2 separate regions of the Homo sapiens genome follow, and region 1 is linked to region 2. The links are contacts of gene promoters, found by promoter capture Hi-C in blood cells and fetal thymus (Javierre and others, 2016). All regions are on one chromosome and are shown on one strand. The core of a region is centred on a gene start or on the middle of the fragment in contact, and the rest is flanking DNA. Distances in the headings are between cores, read along the strand shown.

Region 1 (6,600 bases), core at 140-2,639, 1.1 Mb after region 2:
CCTCCTGGAGTGGACAGTTTATTTTTATCTGGCAGGCTGGGGAACAGTGGTGAGTACCACACCCCTGAGAGTGGGAGTTCCTACAACGATCAGCCATTGTGCCTTCAGAGAAGAAGGCAGCAGGGGCCACTTCAAGCTTCCCTGCTTCCTAAGCTTAGGTTGTCAGAAGCCTTTTTAGAGATACATTTTTAGAAAAAGAAAAATAGTGTGGTAACAGTTTACTACTTGCTTCTTTTTTTTTTGTTTGTTTAGAGTATTTTATAGTAATATTACTATAGCTTTATGTCTAGCTTACCAAATAAGGGGTGAAGTGTGCCCCAGAGAACGCTGTTACTGTAGAAACGTGTCTTAGCCCCAATTTCCACTCATTGGTAAGTTCTTTTTCCTTTCTCTCTTTTGCAAGGTTTCAAATAAAATTGCCTTTCTAGAGCACTTCCCCAATCCATATTCAGTTTATAATCTAAAATGTATTTTACAAAGAAGTAAATGGATTGTTCGGGCTCCAGAGATGTCTTTTTTCATGCACAGGATTTTTTACTTTTAACAGGATACAATGAGTGATCAAGCACTCGAGGCTCTGTCGGCTTCACTGGGCACCCGGCAAGCAGAACCTGAGCTCGACCTCCGCTCAATTAAGGAAGTCGATGAGGTACTGACCTTAGAGTTGATTTACAAAGCTTGTTAGTCTGCACATTACAAAACCGAATGCACTCTGCATGTTTAGAATTCTCGCACAACTTTTATTGGAGAGTAAAAGTGAGCATTCTTCATTGTGCCTTATTTATTGCTGAGTGGTTAGCAACTAAGGGGGATAGTTACATGACTGACTTGTGAAACAGCTAGAATTTTAACATTTGAAATGAACACGAATCTCCCTTGCTAGAGCTTAAATGACCCTTGACTAAACAAGGTAACAAGGAGGCAATGCCTGGTGGGAAATAGTGAAGTTTGGCAATTGGAAATTTGTATTTTCAGAAGGGTTCTGGGTGCTTCTGTTTATAAGAGAAGGAGATGTCTATACACGGAGTGGGAAGATCCTTCATTTATCACTATGGGGAAAGATGTTGAAAATTTTGTCTCAAATTAAAATCAAGCAACAATTACCCTAACTAGAGCTCCTGCATATTTATAGAATAATGCTGATGAGTGTTTATCCCGCCACACTCCAAGATCTTAACAAGCCTTCTGAACCAAAACAAGCTTACATCTGGTGTACGAAAGTTTTAATATTAAATTATAATTTTTGTGGAATTTTTCAACTCAGTCCTCTGGGGTGAAAGAGGAAGGAAAGGAGAGAGTTGCCGGTTCCTGACAAGGCAGTGTTGTGGGGAGATGGAAAGGTAGCCTGGGATCCCCAGGAGCCCGCCCCACCTCCATCAGCTCAGGCTGGGGGTGCTGGCAGGCATTGCTGTCACAATGCCCCATCTCTGCTGTCACTTCCTGTTCTGAGTCATCAGGGAAGGGGAGTCTCCCTGACTTCCAGCAACAATCCTTGAGTCTGGGACTGCCCTGGCCTAAGATGGGCCAGTTTCTATCTTCGACTTTCTTGGAGGGCTCACCGGCCACAGTGTGGCACGATAAGCTTTGTGACGGTGAACGCAGAGGAGCAAGAGAAGCAGTTCGTATCTTCCAGGACCAAGTAATGTATTGGGAAGAAGGGAAACTTGATTACAACACAATGTGAGATATACATTACTTAGAGTAGCCGACAGAAGCAGTGTCATCTTGAGGAAAGCGGGGTGTTGGCAGAATCCTGGGGGGAGTCAGGAGGCCAAGCTGAGTTGTGGCTTTACCACCTGAGGGCGACAGGGCCACAAGTATATTGCACTTCTGCCCCAAGCTTCTTACAGACACTTAAGGAGAGACAATTAATGTGGGAAGGGAGGGTATAAACATGTCATAAACCTCAGGATCAAAGGAGTCTTAAAAGTGACTAAAAGCAGATAAGCAGATGTTAAGAAAAAAAGTGACATAAAATAAGTTATTTAAACATGTGGGTAACTAGTTTGGGAATGCATATGAATGTATTAAGTTCCCTCTAGAAAACTTCAGAGTCGCAGCAAACTAAAATTCCAGCAAAAAGAACTCCTCTTTTCCACTCTTATGACATAATAGTTGTATTAGTCTGTTCTCATGCTGCTAATAAAGACATACCAGAGACTGGGTAATGTATAAAGGAAAGAAGTTTAATTGACTCACAGTTCCTCATGGCTAGGGAGGCCTCATAATTACGGTGGAAAGTGAATGAGGAGCAAAGTCACGTCTTACATGGAGGAAAGTAAAAGAGCATGTGCAGGGGAACTCCCCTTTATAAAACCATCAGATCTAGTGAGAATTATTCACTATCATGAGAACAGTACAGGAGAGCTCCGCCCCCATGATTCAATTACCTCCCACTGGGTCCCTCCCACGACACGTGGGAATTATGGGAGCTACAATTCAAGATGAGATTTGGGTGGGGACACAGCCAAAGCATATCACTAGTTTTCCTTTTTAATCATATACAAAGTATGAATGTTTCTAAAGAGGATCTTTCAGTCCTCTAGATTATTAACCTGAATTCTTAGTACCCGACTTAGTGGGTCCTTTACATCCTAGATAGTCTGATGTGATGAGAAGGCTCAGGAAGGTCACTGTCAGCCTGTAGGAGTGTCCACTGCCACCCCAGCATACCCCAGAATAGAGAGCTATCTGTGGAAAACCACACAATACTCCAGAGAGGAAACCCATGCCTACTTGGTATTCCCATCATCTACCATAACATAAAATAAAAGTTTTTTATTCTCTAATGATAGCCCATTATAAGTCTCCCACATTTTTAGGTGTGGCTGCCTAGTCTAGTGCCATTTCAATTCAGTAGGCTCTTTTTTTTCGATGCCTACTGTATACAAACCAGAGCAGGCATTTCAAGACTATAAAGATCAAAGAGGAAAATAAAAGCTCTGGCCGCATGTGTAACTTTCACTGTCCACAGCCTGAGATTAGTGGGGAGGACCGTCTTAATACAGGTGACCCTGGATGTTCATGAAGGCCGCTGTGCCTTGACCTGGGGAGTGCTGCTCCATGACAGGATTTCTCCAGATGCCGAAATAGAGCGTGACTGGAAATGTTTAAAAGAAAACCATGACTTCATCCTTTAATGAGAGCTTCTCTATAAAACAGTGAAACTAATCCCAAAGCATAGAACAGTGCCTGGTCCATTAAAAGTGCTCAATAAGTAGTAATTAATCAACTAACCAATCAGTGGGTTTAGTTACATTTAATGTTTAAATGTTTTCATTTGTTTTGTTTTTTATATTTCCTGTAAAACATGACCAGCTGACTTTCTCTATTATTGTGCGTATCCTGTTTAAATGTTACTAATTACAATTGTTTAAGAACCACACTCTTAGGCTAAGATGCAGATGGGGGCCGTGGGTTGGGTTGGAATATGCCAAGTGAACCTCCTACCTTGGTTAGTAAATTAAATCCACACCTTTATATAGGTACAAATTCTTACATATTATGGAACTTCACACTACCCACCAGCAGGTTAAATTGCAAGTGTTGTGTCCTAGCAGTCAGTGATCTACTATAGAACTATGCTTTTATTTGTAATGCAGCTAGTTGTTCATGGTTCAGTAAGCTAGAGAAGTCCTGGCATTATTGAAGAGAGTCCTTTTAAAAGAGGTAAAACAAGTTATCCATGGATCAGCCAAGATTTGTGATGGGCCGCTTCTCCCATATCTGAACTGGGTTTAATGTGAAAATTAGTCGTGTTTCCTCTCCCTTCCTTAGACAGCTGCCTCGTTGAGTAAGACAGATGAAGGCCATTAAAATAATTGCAACTAACTGCTGCACTGTGCTTACTGTCTTCAAAGGATCTTTTATTTACTTTTCTCTGGTGATCTTCACAAGTCAGTGAGCTAGATAAGGGTTATTAGTAGCCACATTTTACAGCTGAAGAAACTGGACCAAATAAAGGCTAAGTGGCTTCCCAAGGTCACAGCAGCTGGGAGCAGAACAGGGCAGTTGCCCAGGATCCCTGGCTGGGCTACTTTTGCTCAGTCACCCACTGCTCCCTTTCTCACAGCTGCCCACCATCGTCTTGTGCTTTGTAGTTTACAAGGCTCTTCCAGATGCTTTTACCAGATTTGGTCTTCTCTATAACACTCGAGAAGTACACAGAGGAAGTGATATCATCTCATTATGTGCATTATCCAACTACTTTTTTTTTCCCCTCCATTTTCATCAGGCAAAAGCTAAAGAAGAAAAACTAGAGAAGTGTGGTGAGGATGATGAAACAATCCCATCTGAGTACAGATTAAAACCAGCCACGGTAAATTTTTAGCCACAGTGCATGACAACAGCATCTTGCCTTTGCATCTTGTTTTGTTGTATCTGTACCCTTGACATTGTCAAAGGACATGTCTGTCCCCCATTCAGATATTAACTCTGAAAACCCTGAACCTTTTTTTCTCTGCTCCCTACAGTTAGACCCCTTGAGGGATGGTTTGTCCCTGCCTGGCTTCCTAAGTAGTGACCATGTGTTCATTTAAATTCCCACAGATTTAAATGTTTCGTTTATTAACAGTTCTTACAATAGATCCCAAAACTCAGAAGGAACAATTTGGGGATAATTTCTTTTCTAACTGCTATATGGATAAAAGCACCATAGGTCTTCTGAGGGGTAGATATGAATGCACGAGGGTTTACCAGTATCCTAAGTGAAGGTGGTTTTGTTGCTGTTGTTTTTGATTATGGTGAGGATGGTAGACTAACTCCTGTCATTACATTTGTCATTTACTTTTGAAATCATGCATATAAACACATGTTGGAATATAGTTACAATTCTAAGTTATGAAACCTCATATCCAAAAAAACTAAACAGTGTTATAGGAATGATATCCACCTCTTCACTCTAGGTTGGAGAATTGGGGTTTTTTAAAAGCTTCGATTAACATAGCTACATCTTTATTGCCAAAGAACTTTTTTTTCCTATTACTCTACCCAACAGATTAAAAACATTTTTAATAACTTAAAGTAAATGTGCATTCTGCTTGGTAACATCTCGATTTTTATAGCTCAACTCCTTTTTTTATACTTTATAAAAAGTAAATCTGAAACACAAACTCATGTAAATCTAAGAAAAAAATTAGCTGACATTTCATATCCTGGAATTCCCAGAAACAAACTTGATGGGACATGAAAGCAAAATTTTCTATTTCATTTCCAATGAATTTTAATTTCATTTACAGGATAAAGATGGAAAACCACTATTGCCAGAGCCTGAAGAAAAACCCAAGGTTAGGAAATACATTTTTTTCTGATACTTAAAGAACAATAGACATGTAAAGTATGAATTAAGATAATTTTGACAGTCTGGAATTCACTGTGCAGACTTGCATGCTAACCTAGTACAGAGGAAAGGGGAACTTCTGATGGTAACACTTGGCTGATACCTGTAGCTCCTTTCCATATATTTTAAAGATGATCTTCCTCATAAATCATTACTAGACTATAAATTTCTAGGTAAAATTTATTGCACACTAGAAACTGATGTCAAGAGGGCCCTTAAGTCAGATTAAGCTAGCACTTAGAGTTCCATCCTGATCAAATTCTCTAATGATTCTATTTTGCCTTAAGTTGGTAGTAACCTGTCACATACAATCAGCAACATTTATTAATCGCTTGCTATGCACCTGGCACTGCACCAAATGCTTTTTGGATATTATCTTTGTGAGTCCTCAATGAATGAGGACGGTACTGTTATTATTCCCATTTTACAGTGAGGAAATTGAGACACAGAGGGCCTATGTAAATAGCCCAAGGTCAAGGGGCTATAAAATAGCAAGCCAAGCCCAGGACTTAGAACTCAGGCTGTCTGGTCTGAGTCCCAGCGTCTGAATCACATGCCCTTCTATCATGTTACTGTTGTTAGTGACAATCTCCACATGCCCTAAACTAATACCACTCTCCTGAAAGAACAAGGGGTAGCAGAACTTTGCTGCCAAAATCCTGCATAATCATAGAAACGGAGTATATCATCCGTGTTTTGACTTATTCAGAAGAGAAGTCATGAGGAAATAGGAAAATAATAATCACATTTAAAAAAATTATACAGATCTTCATTGTAGAGAACAGGCAATTTTATTTGAACAAAATTCTTCTGAAACTGAAACATCAAGGGAATGTTTGACCAAATAAACCATTAATACTTTGGTCCTGAGGTGTTTAGTATTTCTTAATTGTTTCATGAAAATTTTATCTTAACGTTGATAAATGAAAAAATATGCCCTTTATAAATTAGCTTTGGGTGTTAAGTATGGCCTCATATGTGTTAATCAGGAAAAAAATTGCTCCATGAAAACTTTTTTTTTACAAAATAAAAAAGAGTCCCCTTGTAATATACAGCACTTCTTATATTACAGCCTCGGAGTGAATCAGAACTCATTGATGAACTTTCAGAAGATTTTGACCGGTCTGAATGTAAAGAGAAACCATCTAAGCCAACTGAAAAGACAGAAGTATGTTTCTAAACATATAAATCTCTAGTTTTGAGGTTTGTGATCTTAAAAAAAAATTGTGAGACAGACTGTTTTAGCATCAAGCAGTCTGTTA
Region 2 (7,007 bases), core at 2,654-5,153:
AAGCAAGTGCATTGTTTGTACAAATAGCTTACGCACAGGGAATCACTTTTATTATTTAGGGAAAGCTTTGTATGTGTAGGTGTAGGTGTCGGATAAACTCACCTGATAGTAATAATTTATGCATACCCTCAGAATGACCCCATATGGCAGATGCACCTGAATGTATGTTCTGAGCTAGGGAATCTGGGAGTAGCTAACCTGAAGAGTCATTCTTTATCTATGAGAAACATCTAATATAGGGGACTGAGGCCCTGAATTTTGGGATACATGAAGGTTGCCAGGTGGAGATTGTTAGGGGGAGGGTATAAAGTGAAAATACCATATAAACTGCATGATGGTTGCAGGCGGTTGCAGTTTTCCTGCCCATCCCACCACCACTGGACTCTGTAAGCACCTAATAAAACACCATGTTTTGTTTGCTGGCTCTAGGTCTCTTCTTCGGCCTCTTGAACCTGGTTCCTTTCCTACTGAGGTTAATAGGGCTTTGGCACGACAGTAAGGGACTGTTTACCTGCCAAGTTCTCACATGTCAGCGAAGGGCCAACCTTACAAGCAGACCTTTTTAAGGATAGCAGTCTCAGGTCAGCTATGCGAACTCCTTTCTCTACAGACGGGCAGGAAGGGGTGCGACAAGGAAAAGGGAAGAGTCAAGGAAGACATGCAGATTTCTCCCTTAAGCCTGAAGATGGACAGTGTTGTCACTTATAGAGATGGAGAAGACAAAGAAATGCAGATTTATGGGAGAGAACTAGTATTTCGATTTTGAACACAATGAAATTAGAGATAGCTATGAATTATCAGGTTAAACTATTGTATGTTATAATAAAAAACAACCTTAAAATTCCAGGGGCCTTAACATAATAAAAATTTATTTCTCACTTAAGTTATGTGACTTTCACGGCCTAGTGGAAGTTAGGAAATTGGTGGGGAGATGTAGTCTCTGTTCTGCATAGTCACTCAGGGACCCAGGCTGGTGGAGGCTCCACCATCCAGAATGTTGTTAATTCTTATGACAGAGAAAGAGGCAACTGGAGAAGTCTCATCTCAGCTTTTCTATGCTTCAGTCTACAGCCCATTGTTCAAAACTGGCCATGTGGCCGCAAAAAACTGTAAGTGGAGCTGGAAAATGTGGGGTAGTTGATGGGATATCTGGTGAACACCACTGTTTCTGCCACAATAGCCCCATAGAAATGTCAAGTAGGCATCCCCAACAAACGTATGTCTGGAGACATTCATTTAGGAGTCATAAGCACATAGGTGGTATTTAGAGCCACACTCACTGTCATGTAATCTGAGTTCCAGGGCCTAGTAAGGGCAGTATTATCACCCTTTTCTGGTGTGAAGGAGTAGGAAATCCAGATTGGTGGACACCCTTCAAACTTCCCTGTAGTGAAACTAGCAGCACACAGGTGCCTTCACTAGCAGTCAAGACAGATTGTGGCTTAGGATTGAAGGCAAGTTTTTAACTTCTCTAAGAGGGGAGTCTTGGTGCCTGAAAAGTCTGCCTAGAAACAGCCTGATGCTCACGGCAGAGGGACTAGGCTCACAACTTTCAGTTGAAACCACACATGAAGATATTGAGAGCCAAAATCAGGGGGAAAGCTGGCCACAGGAACCACTAGGTGTCACTAATAGGCCAAAGTTAGAAGCGCGGAAAAGGAAAGGCTAAAAGAACAAATGAAGGAAGGAAAGAAAAGGTAGTACCTGCCCTAAGATGGCCACAGGTGAAACTTAGTGGTAGCATTGCTAACATTGTTCTATTAAAGAAAAAAAAAAGGCAAAATAACAGTAGAAATTATGAACTTTATTCTGAACAATAATGACTTCCAAATAGACTGGATGGGTTCTTGCTGTTACCTAATGTGCATGCCTGTGTGTGAATGGTTTTGTGCATTTGTGTGTGTGTGCACTTGGGAAGTGGAGAAGGGTAGTTTATTCTGACCTCCATTATAGCTTTCCAAACATCACATGACTAACCATATGAATACTTTTGGTAGAGATAAAAGAAAGTTTCTCTTCTTTCATCCTACTTGTGTGTATATGCATGTATAACTACTGAGGTCTTCAGTTTATTCAATATCAAATTTAAGGTCGATGGATCTAAGATGTGTCCTTTTTTAATGCCCAGAATATGACAAAGCAAAAAAGGATTTCTAAAATGGCAAACCTTATTTAATCCTTCGATGACAAGCTGGGGACTACTAACACCTTCCATGTGCCAATAAAATCATTTGGGATGACTAACAGATAATGGAAATTACAATAAATCAAAATATATTTTATATCTTTGATAACTGATACATCAAAACTAGATAGTTAATTTGTGTTTGGGTCAGTGAAAAAAATGGCCAAAAGGGAAATGACCCAATAAAATATTATTGATCACCATAAAACTGTATTGAAGAGAAAAAAAACAGAAGAAACTAGCACTGGAAACAAATTATTCTGAGCTATTCAACTTCTTACATGTTGAGGCTCATTTAAAAAATGGCATTTATATAGCACACTGAGGTAAATGGACAAAGTTCCTGGGTTTCGGCTGCCCCAGTTCATTGGGCCACCCTAGAGCCTGAGATCACTATGTCACCATACTAAATACAAGTTGTAGTGTTCAACCTTGGGTTCACACTGGAATCACTCAGGAAGTTAAAAACATACATTGAATCTGCCCACTCCCTTCCCACCCCAAATAATCTGTGTTTTATTTTGTTGGTCTGGCATACAGACTGGGCATTACGACTTTTCAAAACTCCCAAGCGACTCTAAGGCATAGCCAGGGTTAAGAATCACTGCACTGGAAAGTAGTCAAGGAAATTAAAAACTTAGGCTCATCTAGTTTCCCAGCTCGGAACACAAATATGAGGGTTTTGGTGGTTTTCTTTGTTGTTGTTGTTGTCAATTCAGGGAAGTACAATGAGAAAAAAGCAAAATTGCAAAGTTCATAATATGAAAGTGAAAACTCTCCATCTCCTCCCAAAGCAACCACTATTGTTTCTTTTGATTTTTCGAGAAAAAGTTTATGTACATACCTGCATGTTTGTATTTCAAAAAATAATTGTTTACATTAAAGAGAGGACACCATATATAGTATTCTACGCTTTGCCTTTAATATTCATTACATGATGGGCCTGTCCTTTGAGTATACAGTACACAGCTACGAAGTAATTCACATGTCTGTACTGTTGTGCTGTGTTTTATTGAACCATTCCTCCGTGTTATCACTTCAGCTATTTTCACTACTTCACAGCAATAAACATTTTTTTTTTTTTTGAGATGGAGTTTCGCTCGTGTTGTCCAGGCTGGAGTGCAACGGCGCGATCTCGGCTCACCGCAACCTCTGCCTCCTGGATTCAAAGCGATTCTCCTGCCTCAGCCTCCTGAGTACCTGCGATTACAGGCCTGGGCCACCACGCCCGGCTAATTTTGTATTTTTAGTAGAGATGGGGTTTCTCCATGTTGGTCAGGCTGGTCTCAAACTCCCGACCTCAGGTGATTCGCCCGCCTCGGCCTCCCAAAGTACTGGGATTACAGGCGTGAACCACCGCGCCCGGCCTTAACATCCTTATACATGGGTTACCAGCATCGCGACGACCTTCTGCAAATATTTTTATAGGGTAAATAACTGAATGAAGTCGCTGGGCGCATCTAAAATTTGAATAAATGTAATGAGATCAACAAACAACTAAAAAGTAAACTGATGCTATCCACATTTGTCAAGTACACGAGTATGCCTGCCAGTTTGAAGGTGCTGGCGCGGCGCTGTTGGCCAGAGATCTCTATCAACCAGGGTCATCTGCCGGCAATGCCATAGAGGCGGTCCCGGGGGCGGGCCTTCTTGGGTCACGTGGACGGCCTCGCCCCGCCCCCGTCGAGGCGCCGCGCACGTCTGGAGCTCTGGCTCGTGCAGTAGCGTCACGCGGAGGCGGAGCGAGGACTCGGGGACAGTAAGTTCTGTTCTCGCCGCGCAGGGGGCGGGCTGGCGGGACCAGCTGCTTCCGGCTGGGCTGCGGGCGTGGACTCCTCATTCCGGCTGTGGCCGCGCCGCTGCGGGGCCTGAGGCCCTCTTGGGTTTTGGTTCAGCGTTAGTTAACGGTTAACCCGCCAAGGCGGGCTTCCGCCCAGGCACAGGAGACTCACCGAGCTTGTTCACCTTGAAACTTGGGCCACACCTGAGACCTGCCACCTAAGGGGGGTACGCGGGTCGTTTTTAACAAGCTTTCATGGCATTTGTGCCATGAAAGCTCTAAAGTATAGAAGCTGCTCCAGGGCTTCCGCAGCCCCGGCCGTCCTGGAGATACTCGCCTCCTGGAGTCTGTGTCGAGAATTTGCAGCACCTGGACAGCCACGTGCAGTCTCAGAACTGCAGGCGGTCTTTACCGAAATGTTAAACACAACTTGAAGTTAGGCAGGATAACTGCCAGAGCTGGATGGACCTTAGAGGTGCCAGCTAACGCGCTGTGAGCGTTTTCTGCGGTTAGGCCTGCTCTAAACATTTGACATGTGTTAAAGCATTTATGTGCTTTACCCACACCCCTATGTGGCGGGCCCTTCTTAAAGTAAAAGAAACTGCAGCACAGCGAAGTTAAGCAACTTGCCCCAAATCACGCAGAACTGGGATGCAAACCCAGGTCTAGCTCACTCGTGATCACAATTCAACATCATACGATGGTGCTGATTTCCAGAGCAGCTCTGTGACTTTATATAAAATTATTGGGCAAGCGTTCAATTGTAAACATTCGTGAACATAGCTGTTGCACATTAGCGTTCCTTTTTTTTTTTAATTCAGGACCATCTTTGGTGACAAATATAAATATCAATACTATATATATCACCAATATACATATTTGCTTTGCTAAAAGGTTTCTGTGTCTTCAGGATAGTTTACTTGCAAGCCTCATGTTTTTATAAAAACGTGGGTGCTACCTGAATAAAACTAATGCCTACCCGTTGGCGGTTTTGTGAAGACTAATGAACTATTATATTCAAAGGGTCCAAGCAGTAGGCATTTACTAAAGGACAGCTAGTTTTATCTGTTATTATTCTGCCATTCAGAGAGATACCAAAACTACTCTCTAAGGCATTTCTCTTCCCTGCATGTAAAAGCAAGGGTGTCATACTTGAGATAAGCATTCTGATAATGTGTAGGCAAAGTTTCCACACTTGGTAAAAGCATCTTAGTCATGGTTCAAGACGAGTGACAAGTAAGTACGTTTCACTTCATGTTTCTTTTATCTCCCGTGTCTTGTGGAAATTTGAGTTACACTAAATATTTTTTTAAATTCCACTTGAATTTATTTCCTTTGTTGGAAAGGAATCTAATAGTGACCGAGTATCCATTTAGCTAATTTGTAATTTTATATGGAGTTAGCACCTTTAGAAACCAATTTTAGGGACAGGCCAAAAATTTTTCTCGAAGAGAACATGAAACACAACGACTAAGTTTTTCAGGGGGATGTTTTCAACTAGCCGTCAAACTGTATGAGTTGTTTAATTTTCTGTTTCATTCAGTTAAGATTCTATTATCTTAAAGTAGACTTAAAATCGAAACATATTGGGAGTTTATGAATAGTTCATCAAAATAACGATAATTAAGGTGAACACGTGGGCTTTCCCTATTGTGTGAATGGATCATGATATTCACAATAGTAAGAATAATATGGGTGTTAAATGTAAAAAGTCCTCAAATAGTATAAATAGTACCATTTAAGATACATAGAGGAAACTATTATTTGACATATAAAATTATACTTTTCTAAGCAAAATGCACAGCCATAATCATAGTTCTCTGAAACCTTTATCATTTAGCCCCAGTCTTCTCTGCTCCTTTTTTATCAGTCCCGTAAAAGTTCACCAGTTTGTCGGGTTGGAGGCAAACCTTGCAAAAACTGTAAGTTTGTAGTGACTCAAATTTGAGAAAGACCTGTATTTGGTTCTCATTTATTTGGGAGTTGGGAAAACATAATTAACTTTTGATATTATACTACATCTCTTGTATTTCGTTACTTTTTGATAGTAGTGCTTTTTTTTTTTTTTTTTTTTTTGGCCTGGAGGAAAACAACTATTCATTTATTTCCTCCTTTGGTGCCAAGTTTTGAAATTAGCTGTACAAAATTCTCAAATAGTTAATTCATGACCTATGCACAGGCACATTCTCTGAGGATAGAAAGGGCAATTTTGTTCCATTTTTCTTGGGTTTGGGGTCATTTGCTACATAAATATACATTAGGATACAACTTAAATCTTGAAAAGAATAATTTTAATTATAAGAAAAAAGTAAATACTTTTAGACATTTAAGAAATGTTTATTATCCCCTTGCTTTTCTTGATATATTTACCCTATAGTACATATATCCATGAATAATATACTGTTTGGTTTTGCCACTTTTGTGATAAAAACGGAAACATACTCTGAATTCCTTTTTAAATTTTTCACTTGCAATTATGTTTTTTGAAATTAAGCCAACTTGATGTAGAGATACATTTTTCACTGCTGTACAGCATTCCATTGAATGAACATACACATTTTCCATTCTACTGTTGATGGGTTTTGTGTTGTTTTTGTTTTTTGCTGTTATAACTATTCTTGTGTATGTTTCCTGGTGTACCTGTGTGCATTTCTGTGGCATATACCCAAAGTGGGATTATTATTATGTTTAACTTTACTAGGTAATGCCAAATTGTGGTAGCACTAATTTATGTTATCACTAGCAGTTCCATATTTTCACTAATACTTGGTATAATTTTTTGTCAGCCTGGTGGATAGAAAATAGTATCACATTAATGGCCTTGCTTTGCATTTCCTTTGCGTTTTCCTACTAATGAGATTGAGTGTCTTTACATATACTGGCCATTCAGATTTCTTTATTTGTGAAATGTTTGTTCATGTCTTGCCCATTTTTCTATGATTATTTGTTCTTTTTTTACTGGCCTATAGGAGTTCTTCACATATTCTGAATCTCAAGAGTTTGTCAGTTATATGTATTGCAAATTCCACATTTCTTTCTTTT

The links. Contacts are between HindIII fragments. The CHiCAGO score rates a contact against its expected background, and 5 or more counts as called.
Region 1: a contact is called between a fragment that was not itself captured here and the fragment with the promoter of RFESD in region 2, in 1 of 17 cell types (erythroblasts). The highest score is 6.2, in erythroblasts.

The regions. Positions count from the first base shown.
Region 1 is chr5:96,742,108-96,748,707 of GRCh38, forward strand. It overlaps CAST (calpastatin), which reads left to right. Exons shown (of 32, transcript NM_001750.7): 16 at 548-649; 17 at 4,235-4,318; 18 at 5,238-5,285; 19 at 6,411-6,506. Among named protein-coding and RNA genes, the nearest start is that of ERAP1, 63 kb to the right of the region's middle. The HindIII fragment of the contact is 382 bases long and covers 1,199-1,580 here.
Region 2 is chr5:95,642,874-95,649,880 of GRCh38, forward strand. RFESD (Rieske Fe-S domain containing) reads left to right here and starts at 3,904. Exons shown (of 6, transcript NM_001131066.2): 1 at 3,904-3,944. The HindIII fragment of the contact is 4,150 bases long and covers 64-4,213 here.